Regions from separate parts of the Homo sapiens genome. Here region 2 is linked to region 1. Evidence: promoter capture Hi-C in human tissues and cell types (Jung and others, 2019). All regions are on one chromosome and are shown on one strand. Each heading gives the region's core, a stretch centred on a gene start or on the middle of the fragment in contact. The rest is flanking DNA. Distances are from core to core; before and after follow the strand shown. Region 1 holds the start of KRT81 (keratin 81). Region 2 holds the start of KRT4 (keratin 4).

The links. The method cuts DNA at HindIII sites, captures the fragments that hold promoters and counts their contacts. A contact is called where the count stands out against the background at its distance.
Region 2: a contact is called between the fragment with the promoter of KRT4 here and the fragment with the promoter of KRT81 in region 1, in 1 of the 25 tissues and cell types used here (IMR-90 fibroblasts).

What each region holds. Positions count from the first base shown.
Region 1 is chr12:52,289,258-52,296,642 of GRCh38, reverse strand. KRT81 (keratin 81) reads left to right here and starts at 5,109. Exons shown (of 9, transcript NM_002281.4): 1 at 5,109-5,546; 2 at 6,357-6,565; 3 at 7,368-7,385. The coding sequence starts at 5,178. The region is part of intron 2 of KRT86 (keratin 86); the gene reads right to left. The HindIII fragment of the contact is 10,526 bases long and covers 2,772-7,385 here.
Region 2 is chr12:52,811,387-52,818,771 of GRCh38, reverse strand. KRT4 (keratin 4) reads left to right here and starts at 4,656. Exons shown (of 9, transcript NM_002272.4): 1 at 4,656-5,175; 2 at 6,795-7,009. The coding sequence starts at 4,714. RefSeq lists enhancers at 52-553, 5,084-5,585 and a silencer at 5,751-5,951. The HindIII fragment of the contact is 8,662 bases long and covers 587-7,385 here.

The sequences.
Region 1 (7,385 bases), core at 3,860-6,359:
CTCAGCCAAGAGAGCCCAGGACGCTGGCCAATTATCCATCAGAACTCACCAGAGAGGAGTCCCACTGGACAAAGGGCCAGAAGGCCCCTGTAAGATGCCTGGGTGGGGCTGGAGCCTGACTCAAAAGCTCCACCCTGGTAACATTCATCCCACTAACCAGCTGGGTGCCTGCACCTCCCTCGCCCCATGTCCCTGCCCTGTGAGGGTTCATTACTATAAATCTGGAACTACAGTGCCCACCTCTTCCAGTGGGCCTACACACACTTTCCCTTGGTGCTGTGCTGCTTCCCCCATCCACCTCCTCCTCCTCTGCTCTTTCATCCCTGGAGTGACCCTTCCACCATACTTCCCAGATCTTCTCCCATTTTTCCTCCACTGTCCTCCAGTTTCCTCCTCTTCCTGACTATCTCCTAAGATCTCTCCCTCATTTTCTTCTCCACCCATGCAGCACTCTCCTTCTCTTCTTCTAAGTCACCCTGAGAATAATAGTCTAAGACCAAGTATTTCTTTCTCCCTCTTTTCCTAGAAATCTCCTCTGATTTGCTTCTCTCTTTCCTTCTCCAATCCGACACCTGGTCTCTACTCTGCCCCAAGGCCTTCAAGATCCTTGTTCTCATTGGCTGACTTTCCCCACCACCCCCTTATAGCCCAAGCCAAGGACTTTGCTTGGTTGAAGGACACATCTCACTCACTTCATTCATCCTTCAGGCCCCAGCAAGGAAGGTCACCCCTCTCCACCCCCACCCCCAGGAATAGCCACATCATCTGCTTCATGTGTCCCCACCCTATCCTACCACAAAGCTTTGCACAATAAACCACCAAGCTTTGATGGCTCCATTACTCAGCACTTAATATGCAGCTGGTATTCTTTTCATTCATTCAAAAAATATTTATTGAGCACCTACTATGTGACAAGCCCTTGGAATATATCCACGAAGAAAACATTTGTACACACTGATGTGCTGCAGGGTTTCCATTTTTGTTCATTATCTGGGTATGTGTCTCTGCTTTTCTCTTAATACTGGAAGCTTGCCAAGAACAAGGGTGAGCTCTCCTATACTCTCTGGCCCTGAACCCTGAGAGCAACCTGCAGGGCCCTGCAGAGGGCATGGGGCAAGATGAGTGTTTGTGTTTTTATGTTATGTACAAACACCAGCTACTGTGTGATACTTATTACTGATGGCCGATGGTGTACAGAAGGGAGTGCAATGGGACAAACGCATCCCTTCCTTTGGGATCAGACACACAGGCTCTGGGTTCCAGTTCTGCTACTAACATGCAACCTGAGCCTTAACCTCCCTAGACCTCAGTGTCCTCATCTATAAAACGAGAATAATAACACCAACCTCAGAGGGCAACTGTAAAAATTAAATGAGTTAATGCATGTTGGACTCTTAAAATAGTATCTAGTGTGGTATAAGATGAACATCAAAAGATTTTATTATTAAGTTTGGAAGAATAGTCATAAAATAGCTTTCTACATGAAACATCTACTACTGACATAACTTTAAAAAAAATAGCCACATACCCCAGAAAAACTCTTGCATAAATGCACCAGAAGACATGAGAAAGGATGTTCATAGCAGCTCTGTTCAATCTACAGAACTCTGGAAACAACCTTGTGGCTATCGAGGTAGAAAGGCAAATAAACTGTGGTATAGCCATGCAATGAGTGCAATCCACAGTGAAAATGAACACAGGACAGCTACAGGAAGCAACATTTAATGAAAGAAACCAGATGCACAAGGATCCATGCAACATGAGTCCATTTATGTGAAGTTCAAAAGCTGGAAAAAGAAACAATATGTCATTGCAAGATGGGTGCATTGGTTCTAAAACTGTAAGAAAAGCAAAGGAATAATTAAACACAAAATGCAAGAGAGGAGTCACCCTAGGCCAGGAAGGAGTAGGGTACAATCAGAACAAGGTACATAGGAAGCTCCTGAAATACACACATGTTCTATTTTTTCCTATAAGTGGTAGGTATTGCTACAGATCTAACCACCTATGCATTTTTTGTGTTGAAATATTTCACAATAAAAATAATTGTTATCTCCACAAAGTTAAAATCTATCCTCTTTACCTTGCCAGAGCCAAGACCATAGAGTGGAGATTCTGCCATCTTCCCTCCCCTCCTCCCTGCCACCTTCCCTCCCCTCCTCCCTTCCCCATGACAAGGTTTTTTCACTCTGAAGAAAACAAGTTGAATGTCCTTTTAGGTCTTCAAAAATTAGCAGCAATTAATTCCTGAAGTTTAATGAAATGGTGTCACATTTGAATTTTTCATATTCTTACATCTTTAAAATTGCTTAGTAAGGACCAGCCATTAGTAATTAGCTTGTGTTTATACATGTTGTTTTTATAAGGAGTTATACTGGTAGAAAAGGTGAAGTGTGGATGAGATGTACTTTGACTCACAGTGCTCCTCAGGACACCCAACCGCTGGTTTACTGGGGACATCACTGCTCAATTGTGAGCAGTGCCCCAAATTCCAGATGAGGGTACAAAGAGCTTCAGAAGTGCTGGCCCAGCAGCCCTGAACTCACAAAGGGACAGCAGGTGCCATACTCTTCTCTGGGGTGACCAGATAGCTCAACACAGTCTGTGACCTCCCACATTTGTCCTGCACAAGGCCACACTCTGAATGTTTTGCACAGATACCCTGAGAGCCCTATTCTCTTCTATTTTTTTCCTCTCCTCTCTTTTCCCATCAATCCTGCTTCTGTTCTCATTCCCTAAGTCTACTCTGCCTGCCTTTGCCCTTGAAGCATAGCAGCTCCAGGGGGCTATAAGCCAGGCCATTTCACTTCTCTTTTCTTCTCCTCAATTTAATGCAAACCTCTGTACTTTACGAGCTAATTTTTCTAGGACCTGCTCTATTGGAGTGGGGGGTGGTTCACTGGGTAAGTAGAACATAGTACAGTCTATCAAAGTATTGCCATATACCAGAGGTATGCAAATAACTAAAACTGATGTTTTCCACCCCGTCCTTCAATTCTTAGCCACGGGGTGCTGCACATCTAACTCATACTCCTTCCCAGCCCCCAAGTAGCCTCACATCGCCGTGTGTCCCTAAATGACCCCTCATGGTTCTAACCATCCCAATCCACTCTGACTCTGCCCGTCTTCCTTAGATGGACTCTCTCACACCCTAAATTCACAGATACTCCCCTGTAAACAACTTTCACTACCCTCTTGAACTTATCCAAAGATTAGGAAGTCAAGGGGTTGTCACAGCTTATAAGTGAGAAGGCAATGCAACTCCTGGCTCCATCACTTACCAGCTGGGAGACTTCGGGCAAGTTATTTAACCTCCCTGACCCTTGGTTTCCTCATCAGTAAAATGGGGATAATGGCACATACTTCATATGATTGATGTGAGAATTAGAGATCATTTACGATATATAATGATGATCACATAGTAGGTGACCAATTAAAAAGAAACATATTCTTATCAAACTAAGATCCATGTTTCTCTACACAGTTCTTTCTAATTCTAATTCTCTATACAGTTTTTCCTAATACAGGGGGAAATGTACTGAAGTGATCCAACCTCCATCTCCTGGGTTCAAGCAATTCTCCTGCCTTAGCCTCCCATGTAGCTGGGAATACAGGCACGTGCCACCATAACGGGCTAATTTTTGTATTTGTAGTAGAGACGGGGTTTCACCATCTCTGGTCTTAAACTCCTCCACTGAGGCTGGTCTTGAACTCCTGACCTCAGGTGATCCACCCCCCTCAGACTCCCAAAGTGCTGGGATTACAGGTATGAGCCACTGCGCCCAGCTGTGATTCAATTTAGCATCACCAATCTGACATTTTATGCTTCCTGGGGTGATATAATAAGAGTTACACAGCATATTTTATGAAGTATTCTGTCCCAACAATGTTTAATTTAAACCTAATCCAGCCTCTAGCCCAGTGCTGTCCAACAGAATTTTATGTGAAAATAAACAATAAATAAAATAAAAATAAATAATAAAGAAGTGTTCTTTATATGCACTGTCTAATAAGGTAGGCACTACTTACAGGTAGCTGCTGAGGACTCAAAATGTGGATAGTGCAACTGAATAACTAGATTTTTAACTTATTTAGTTTTTACTAACTTAAATTTAAGTAGCCACATCTGCCTATTGTCTACCAAATTGGACATCCCAGCTCAAGATTTACTTTCTAATTTATAGAAAATACAAGGGCTAGAGCCACAAATTAAATTATGTAAAATGTAGTTTTAAAATCCTTAGGACAGTTAGGAAAATTGAATCTGAGATGAATAGTAAGTGGTGCTTTGGAATTATTGTTAATTTTCCTGAATAAGAAAATAGTACTCTCCTTATTCTTAAGAAATTCCTGCTGATGTATTTAAGGGTGACATGCCATGCTTTCTGCCACTCAAATAATTGGGCAACTGTGAAAGCAAATATGGTATAATGTTAACTGTTGAATCGGGGTAAACAGGTGGAGCATCAATGCATGTGTGTTGTATTATTCCAATTTTCCTCAATATTTGAAAGCTTTCATCATAAAAAAGATAAAAGACAAATATTTAATAATCTGCTGACTGTTCCCATGGTAGGAAAAGTGAGATGGTTTTCAGCTGCCAACTGAAAAATCTGGAGATGGGGAAATCCAGATTTGTGTTTCAGGAGCACTTTAGCCACAGCTGTGATGGAAATGAGAGATGGTATTTATTAATGCCTCAGCCTTTCCTGAAACCCCTCTCCCCACATCACACTTAACACACAGGTCTCCTCCTCCCAGTTTCTCCCAGCACCTGGCCTCCCTTCTCTTCCCCTCGCCAGGCTCTACTCCTCCTTCTCGTCCTCTCCTCTGCCTTCCCCTTCCCTCCCCAATGCCTGCAGATGAAGGAATGCCCTGCTGGCAAGACACTTTGAAGATGAAACATGCTGACTCCCCCAGAGCCCAAGACTGACATCTTTTACAAAGAAGAGGGTGCAGGCCACTCCCCCATTAAAGCACATTCTGGAGAGGCGTTAGACCCGGCTAACCACCCAAGCCCATAAAGCGCAAATTGCCCCAACATCATCTTCACAGCCAAGCCCCTTCAGAATCTGCGCATAAATAGGGCTGCGGTGCCCTGAGGAGCACATTGGAGTTTCCATCAGGACTCCAGGTCCCCTATCCTGTCCTCTGCAACCCAAACGTCCAGGAGGATCATGACCTGCGGATCAGGATTTGGTGGGCGCGCCTTCAGCTGCATCTCGGCCTGCGGGCCGCGGCCCGGCCGCTGCTGCATCACCGCCGCCCCCTACCGTGGCATCTCCTGCTACCGCGGCCTCACCGGGGGCTTCGGCAGCCACAGCGTGTGCGGAGGCTTTCGGGCCGGCTCCTGCGGACGCAGCTTCGGCTACCGCTCCGGGGGCGTGTGCGGGCCCAGTCCCCCATGCATCACCACCGTGTCGGTCAACGAGAGCCTCCTCACGCCCCTCAACCTGGAGATCGACCCCAACGCGCAGTGCGTGAAGCAGGAGGAGAAGGAGCAGATCAAGTCCCTCAACAGCAGGTTCGCGGCCTTCATCGACAAGGTGGGTGTCCTGGATCACACCCTTCCTGAACCCCCACCACCTACACAGCCAGGGCCGGGCACTAAGGATGGAGTCAGAGGCACAAAGACCTCTGCCTGCCTGAGATCCCAGTCTGATGGGCGAGGCACACAGACACACAGACAGACAGACACATGCACAGACACACACACACAGGCACTCAAGATGCAGACTCAGCTGACAGTTCAGATAGAGGGAGCTTGTGAAGGAAAAGTGTGGCCAGGCTGCTCTGGGGCACAAGCTAGACATCAGGGAGTTGGGGGAGGGGGGCATGTGACCACTGCTGCTGAACTCAGAGGGGTTTGGGCAGCCCCAGGGTGAGAGAGTAGGGTGCACTGACTTCCAGATGACACAGGGGAAGGGCTGGGACAGCTGAGCTCCCTTCCAGATGGCCTGTGACACCCTCTTCCTGGCACCATCCCCAGAAACCTCATCTGTGATCTGAACCTGAGTACTCTGCCTGTGTGGGTTGCTGATCACCTAGTTTCATAGTGAGGGACTGAGCCTCCACTTCTGTTCATCTGCTTGGGTTGGGGGGGGGGGGTCACTCAACTCCCCAGGGAGCAGGCACTGACACCACCCAGCCCTTGCTCCACTCCTGAGTGGGAAATCTAGACACAGATCATGACCAGGAAATCCAGAAATTGTCTGTCTCCCACTGCCCACCTCTACTCAATCTCAGATAAGCTCCAGATTTGGGGGTTCCCATTAAAGCACCTCCCCTGCGAGCCCCCAGAGCTGGCTTTGGGGCACCAGACACCATCTGCCCCACCTTCCCACACCGAATGGCAGGTGCGCTTCCTGGAGCAGCAGAACAAACTGCTGGAGACAAAGCTGCAGTTCTACCAGAACCGCGAGTGTTGCCAGAGCAACCTGGAGCCCCTGTTTGAGGGCTACATCGAGACTCTGCGGCGGGAGGCCGAGTGCGTGGAGGCCGACAGCGGGAGGCTGGCCTCAGAGCTTAACCACGTGCAGGAGGTGCTGGAGGGCTACAAGAAGAAGTGAGTGCGGGCAAGAGGGATGCTGGGCACAGGAATGGGGTTTAGGTTAAATACACTGGATTAGACAATAAGAACTCCCAGGTAGGGTGAGTGGCCATGACCACTAGATTGACCGAGGGTGGCGGGGTCTTTTCCTTTGTGGAATCTTTGCCCAGACACCTGTGTAAGAGGAGGGCTGTGACTCCCATGACCTGTCTCTGTCCCACTTCAGCCTTCTCTCCCTGAACCACATCACCCAGCAGCTCTCCCCTGCGCTGGGTGGGGAGGAAGCCTCTGCAGGGTCCAGGCCTTCTCTCCTGACCCTCAGCCCCTATACTTGTAGCACCTGTCAGATGTGAGCCCAGGGTCTCTCATGAGTGACAGGTCTTGGGCTCTGGGTGTCCCACTGCCTTAGGTTCTAAGTCCTGAGGGTCTGCGGGTCCAGGAGGCCCCATACCTGAGCTGGGATTGATACCAGTGAGGGGAGGCTAGGGCTACAGGCCCTGAGAGTCCACGCTGTCCACTCCCAGGATGGGGCTGGGGGCTGAGTCCTATTTGCCTCCTGGGGGACCTCAGAGCCCCTTTGGGAACAGGACTGGGAGGTCCCAGATGAGCACTCTCCATCCCCAGTTCAAAGTGGATAGAGAATCCCAGACACATCCCACATCCAACTAGAAAGCACTAAGCTAGGCTGCCAGGCCGGGGCTGTGTGGAGGTGTTTCTAGTACTGTCCCCATGGCTGTGATGAAGTGTGATGTGATGGTGGCTCTGCAGAGACCTGCCCTGCCCTGACCTCCCCTCTCTTCCCTCTGCTCTGTCTCAGGTATGAGGAGGAGGTTTC
Region 2 (7,385 bases), core at 3,407-5,906, 520 kb before region 1:
CCAGGGAGGGCAGGAGCACTTTCCCACACCACACAGTGGGTTTGGAGATGAGAGTGACAGAAGCCCTCAGGATCCCTTAATCCCAGGGCTGAATGTAAGGGCTTGCCTCCCTTACCCAGAAAGCCCTGAGCAAACACTCCCTCCGCCTGGCTCCACACCCCTGTCGGCTGCTCATCCCTCTGTGAAAAGATTGGGAACAGCTGCCAAACAAGGAAGGGTCACCGAGGGCAGTAGCAGAATCTGCGTGTGGAGGTCTGGGGAGGGGCAGGGGACAAGCTTCCAGCTGTGGCTGCTGGGTAGTGGCGCCTTGTTCAGCCACCTGCCTCTGGCCCACATATGAAGGCAATGTCTTTCCCCGTTTTCAGGGAAAGAAACTCATCTCTCTTTCTCTCTCACTCTAGGGTGTAAAGGCGCTCTTGCATAGGAAGTTCTTCCTTAGGTCTACCTTCGGTTTCTCAGGCTCAGTTTGAAGATTTTGTGAGCTTCTTGCAATTCTGATTTAATAATAAGGACACAGAATGTGGCTCTAGACTAGAACTTTCTTCTTGTTTGGATTGGGTTTATGGTAGGGTTTGTCATGAAATTAATTTGGATTTAGTTAATTGGAGGATACAAAACTGGCCCCTCAGGACAGTGTCATACCTTATTGGGTACTTGTAAGGACAGGGCCACATCAACCAAGCAACTGACCATGTGCTGAGGGTAAGGACAAAAAGGAGCGGAGCTGCATCTGCAGAGCTTGCAGCCTGCTGGCCAGACCCCATGGCTGTCTTGGTGGACCATGAGGTACAGGGCTGTATAAGTTGCTGTGTATTTTTTTCCCTGCATATTCTGTGTGGGCCAGTCACTCATATAAAACATTATACCTACCGTTTTATACATTGTAAGGTCACAAGCTTTGAAGTCAGACAGATAGTACTGACTTCCTATCTCTACCACTTCCTGGCTGTGTGATCTCAGGCAAGTTACATACCCCTCTGAGCCTCAATATCTGCAGCTCCAAACTGGACATAGCAAAGCACCTCTTTGACTGGGTTGTTGGAAGAAGCACCTAGTGTTCAGCATATAACAGTAGTTCCAAGAGAGAATCCCTTCTACCCAAGAGGCACCGCTGCCTTTCCTTCATCTTCCTTCTTGTATCAGCGATGGCACACCTCAAGTCACCTTCATGAGAAGTACCTCAATCGTAGCTCCATGGTTTGGGTGCCCCACAGGCACAAAATAAGACTGATTACATATTCTATATTGTTTCCCTGAAAATCCCCTTGGCTCCTGGCTTGCTTTTTGTTCTAAGCAGTAGACACAACTCTAGGGGCAGTGAACCCATGCCATTTTCTCCTAGTGTTGGAGTGTTACAGCCATAGAGTAAAAGACCCAATAAGCACACTATGAGCCATCTCAGGGATTCACTTGTGCTCAGGCAAAGCCTACCCCGGCCTGTGATAGTCCCCATCAAATCCCAGGGGCTACCAGAGAAGAAAGCAGTGAACGGCAGGTGCAGAGGCTGAGGTGAGGCAGCCGGGGGGTGAGCTCCAGCCATCACTCAGGGTGAGATCCTGATGGCCCTGCCATGTCCTCTGGGGCAGGTAACCAGTCAATTGGACCTCAGCTTCCCAAGTGGGAGGCTCACATGTCTCCTCAGCTCCTGCAGCTGCAGCCCGCAAAGACCTGCAGTAGCTCCCACCCTCCTTCCAAGCCATGCCCACCTTAGGAGCAACAGTGGAAATCGATAGACCCTGGGATGCTAGTGCCCCCAGAGCCCCTTTGACCCGAACAGTCAGTTCCATCAGATTTATTTGGGTGCACATTCTGGATTGGTTGTGACACAATTTAGACAGAGTGGCTTTATACCAGGCAGAACAGTGTGAGTGAGAGGCTATAGAATATGGAGCCTTTGGGCCAGGTGCAGTGGCTTACGCCTGTAATCCCTGCACTTTGGGAGGCCGAGGCGGGCAGATCACGAGGTCAGGAGATGGAGACCACGGTGAAACCCCGTCTCTACTAAAAATACAAAAAAAAAAAAAAAAAAAATTAGCTGGGCGCGGTGGCGGGCGCCTGTAGTCCCAGCTACTTGGGAGGCTGAGGCAGGAGAATGGCGTGAACCCAGGAGGCGGAGCTTGCAGTGAGCCGAGATGGCGCCACTGCTCTCCAGCCTGGGCGACAGAGTGAGACTCCGTCTCAAAAAAACAAAAACAAAACCCAAAACAAAAACCAAAAAAAAAAAAAAAGAATATGGAACTTTTGGGACCAGACTGATGTAAGTTTAAATCCTGGCTCCACCACGTGCTGCTGTGTGACCCTGGGAGCTACTTTACTTCTCTGAGTTTCTGTAAGGAAGGCTAATGGTGCTGACTCCATAGAGCCTCTAAGTAGACTAGTTGATCAAATGTAGGTAAAGCATCCAGCACAGAGCTTGGCACGAAGTCGGCGCTTGGTGAATCTGGGCAGAAAGGATCAGTGAAAGTCCAACCCCTTCCTTCTAGGAGATGGTTCTGGCTCTAGAATGCTCACCTACTGCAGGTGGACTGACCCATGACGCGGGCATTCTCCTGTGATGGGGCCTGGGGCCTCCAGTCCTCATGGCCACAGCCCCTCCACCCCCTCTCCACTTACTTAGAGGCCATCTTGGCAGAGACAGACCCGAGGTAGGGGAGGGAGGGGTTGGGGGAATGGGGACAAGGGAGGAAGTGGCTGGAGAAGGAGCTGGCTGAACTCCCAGCCAGCCTGGCCTTCCCTGCAGCCCTGCGTCTGGGGTGGGATCTCCTGACCACTCTGTCCTCAGCACTGGCCCCTGCCCTCTCTCTGTGCATGGAGGCAGCCGTTCACTCTCTCCCTGGCCAGCTTTCATTCAGCTAGGGGCAGCTTGGGTCTGTGGGATTATCCAGGTGCTGGTGACTGCTCTTCCTCAGACCTGGGGTCATTTCATCTATGAGGAATTGAGGAAAGGAGGGAGAACAAACACACCAGATTTCTCCCTGTAAATGGCAATGGCAAAGCCTGGGAAAGAAGAGAATGAATGCCTGCTGACCTCCTATATGCCAGGCACCATGGGGACATTGTCTAATTCCTTGTGAGGCAGGTGTCCCATTTGGTAGATGAGAAGATGGATTGGATGGTGTATTAGGCCATTATTACGCTGCTGATAAAGACATACCTGAGTCTGAGCAATTTACAAAAGAAAGAGATTTATTGGACTTAACAGTTCCATGTGGCTGGGGAGGCCTCGCAATCATGGCAGAAAGCAAAAGGCACTTGTTACATGGTGGTGGCAAGAGAGAGAATGAAAGCCAAGCAAAATGGGTTTTTCCTTATTAAACATCAGATCTCGTGAGACTTATTCACTACCACAAGAACAGTATGGGGGAAACCGCCCCCATAATTCAATCATCTCCCACCGGGGCCCTCCCACAATGTGTGGGAAATATGGGAGTACAATTCAAGATGAGATTTGGGTGGGGACACAGAGCCAAACCATATTGGATGGGTTTAGAGTGCTTAGTTGGCCCACCCAAGGTTATACAGCTAGTTAGTGGCAACAGGAGGGATTTGAACACAGATCTGTTACTGTTCAGTTGGGAAGAATTTAAGTTATGGCTTAAAACTAGGATTTTGCATTTAAAAACATTGCTCTGAGAAGGGATCCATAGGTTTCATCATTCTGCCAAAGGGATCCCCAGCAGCAAAAAAGTTATGAACTCCTGCCCTGAATTCTGCACCATTACAGAAAACCAGAACACACCTAGCAAACAACTGGACAGCAAATGGAGCAGCAGAGTGCACACCACCAGACCCCGCTGGAGAACGCCCATCTAGAATTGTGCAAGCACAGATTGAAGGGAGGCCTGCGGGGCAGCATGGGTACCCAGGGCTGAGAAAGACAGTCACGGTTTTCTTTGGGGAGGTGTTTTGTCTTCCCCCATCTCCTTAGTACCTAGCTCCATGCCTGGCAGTTTCTCAGTAGCTGTTGGCCAAGTTGAAGTGAATCTGGATCTAGGTTGGAAGGCTAAGGCTGGAATACAGAATATTTCCCCTTTTTATAGGTACATGGAGCCAAGAACATGTGGAGGAATAAGAATGCTAAGAATGACAAATATACATGTGGCTTTTGACAGTTTACAGAGCACTCCATTAATCACTAGCTCACTCTATCCTGAGAAGTGGCAAGGCAAATATTTGTATTACTTCCAATTTACAGGGAAAGCAACTGGGCCTCAGAGGGTGACTTGCTCCGGTTTGCAGAGCTAGGAGGTGGCAGGCTGTGCGCTCAAACTCAGGCTGTCTAACTCCACATTCTGTGGGGTGAGAGGATGGGTGATGGGGTGTCTTTTCTGGAGGAGGGAGGTGCTGTGAGCCTAGCGAGATGGAGGTACAGTGGGTGTGGGCCTGGAGCGCTGGGCCCAGGCAGGGGCTTCTGATTAGGAAGCCCTGGGGCACCAGTTCAGGTTCTCCCAGAGAGTAGTGTGATGGGATCCAGTAACCTGTGCCCTCCAGATGACTTCTGTAGGTGTGTTTAGTGACATGCTCAACGGGTGCGGGAAGGATGGGCTTGTGCCAAGGGCCAAGCCCAGAGATGTTTCAGATTTTTCCCTTTATGCCCCTGCAACCAAGCCCTGCTGCTCCAGGACATATAAGAGACGAAGGCTGAGGGCTCCAGCACTCACCGGCCTGGGCCCTGTCACTTCTCTGATAGCTCCCAGCTCGCTCTCTGCAGCCATGATTGCCAGACAGCAGTGTGTCCGAGGCGGGCCCCGGGGCTTCAGCTGTGGCTCGGCCATTGTAGGCGGTGGCAAGAGAGGTGCCTTCAGCTCAGTCTCCATGTCTGGAGGTGCTGGCCGATGCTCTTCTGGGGGATTTGGCAGCAGAAGCCTCTACAACCTCAGGGGGAACAAAAGCATCTCCATGAGTGTGGCTGGGTCACGACAAGGTGCCTGCTTTGGGGGTGCTGGAGGCTTTGGCACTGGTGGCTTTGGTGGTGGATTTGGGGGCTCCTTCAGTGGTAAGGGTGGCCCTGGCTTCCCCGTCTGCCCCGCTGGGGGAATTCAGGAGGTCACCATCAACCAGAGCTTGCTCACCCCCCTCCACGTGGAGATTGACCCTGAGATCCAGAAAGTCCGGACGGAAGAGCGCGAACAGATCAAGCTCCTCAACAACAAGTTTGCCTCCTTCATCGACAAGGTGAGCTGTGTCCTCGGCTGGAGAGGGGCAGTTAGAAGAGAGGGGTCCTGAGTCCTGGGGTCTCAGACCTGAGCCTGCCACAGGTGCTGGGGAGACCACTGAACTTCCCTGGGCCCCAATTCTCCAGCTGTTGAAGGGGCATCATGACTTTGAGCCTTCCTTTTTGTCCCGTGGCTGGTGGGAAGGTGGGATGCTCAAGGCAGTTAAGTGTTTGGAATTCCCTAGACAGGCTGTGGGATACTGGACAAATCATTTGGCTTTTCTGGCTCTAGTCATCCCAGCTATAAAGGGGGTTCATTATTTCTCTGCTTTTTCTCAGATTTTGGTTTTGAATATAATGCAGTTAACCCCATTAATCACTTAACAGTGGCCACTTCTGTTCTTAGAACAGAAGACAACTAAGCTGATTTTGCAAATGAAAAAGGGACTGGCTCCAGTGGCAGATTCTAGGTCTCACCAAGGCCTTGGAAATTTACTTTTTTCATTCCTTTGACTGGACAACACTGCTCATGTCTGGGTCTGTTTGAAGAAAGGAGACAGGTCTCTTTTCTTTTTGTAGCCCAACTTCCTTTTTCATGCAACGTCTAGAAGTTCAAGTTCTTTAAGCTCAGTTATGGTCATGCATGATGGATGATAGTGAGCAGTGCAGCCCCAGAGAGCCGAGTCATCCAAAGATTGATGACTGGGTGGATGAGTGCCTCCCTTTGGTCCAGGTTGCCCTGGTTCACCAGGCATCAAAGTCTTGGGCAGCTTCGACATATGGGGCAAGAATGAACACTTTTGGAATAGAATAAGGTGCATATTTGTTCTTCTTGCTAGTTTGAATAAACCCATAGTAACTTAAAGAGGTTTTACTGTGACTATAGGACATGCAGATGTGATAGCAAAAACTCAGGGCTCTTTGATGCATCCTTGTCTCATCTCATCTCATTTTACCTTTTGGGTTCAAAATGTGATCGGTCTGCCTTACCTGCTTTCCTTTCAATTCTGAGGCTCATAACATGGAAATGTCATGCTAAGCTGCTGTCCTGGTTTGTCTGGCTAGATTTTTTCATAGAGAGAGGGAAAGTTCAGGAAAGTCCTTTGCAGAATGGAGTTTAGGTGAGACAATGCGTACAGGGCCCTTGTTTTAAATATCTATACTCAGTTGTTCACAGGTTCACAGGGACACGCCAGATCCATTGATAAGTAAGCTTATTTAAAAAGTCTGTAGTGACTTTGTCTTTCATTTGCCTTGGGTCAGGATCACTTTGAATGCAAGAGCCTCCAGATTGTGATGTCTCTTAATTTTATTTTGTTATTTCATAGAAGTTTAATGTTCTTTGGGGCTTTGGGTGCCTGCGGCTAGGAAGTTGTTCTTGTTGCACTGTTAGGCCCTGCTTCTCTGGCTGTGCTCTATTCTCCACAACCTATGTGACCCCTTGGTGCTATGGGCTCGAGAATGGGGCCATCATGTCAACCCGAGTGAATGGTGCCCTGGAGATGCAACATAGTGGCCCTACTTGGGTGGTTCTTGGGCCGTGTAGTTCCCTGGGATTGACTGGGTTGGTGTTGCCTTGGCTGGCCCTCCTGCCACACTTCAGGCCCTCATCACTTGGCTGGTGCCTTTATCAACACAGGTGCAGTTCTTAGAGCAACAGAATAAGGTCCTGGAGACCAAATGGAACCTGCTCCAGCAGCAGACGACCACCACCTCCAGCAAAAACCTTGAGCCCCTCTTTGAGACCTACCTCAGTGTCCTGAGGAAGCAGCTAGATACCTTGGGCAATGACAAAGGGCGCCTGCAGTCTGAGCTGAAGACCATGCAGGACAGCGTGGAGGACTTCAAGACTAAGTACATGGGGAGGAAGGAGGGGACGCCATCTGACACATGTGCCCAGCCACACCCAGGCTCCCGGGGCTCTCTCCAGTGGCTTAGAATCTCAGGCTCTGAAGGCGTCTAGGAAGGCCCTCTAGTCTGTTTTGCTACATCCACATAGTCACGTTTTCTCAGGGTGAGGTCTGGTAACCACAGATTTTTCCGAAAGGAAATTTAATGATAGATTCAGGGATTTGGGTCTGCCATATACGAACAAGATCAGAACCCAAATAGATGAAAAGCAGTATAGTATGATTAGAAGAATACAGACTGTAGAGACAGATGGAGGTGGTTTGCATACTGAGTCCTCACTTACTAGCTGTGTGACCTTGGGTAAATAGCTGAACCTCTC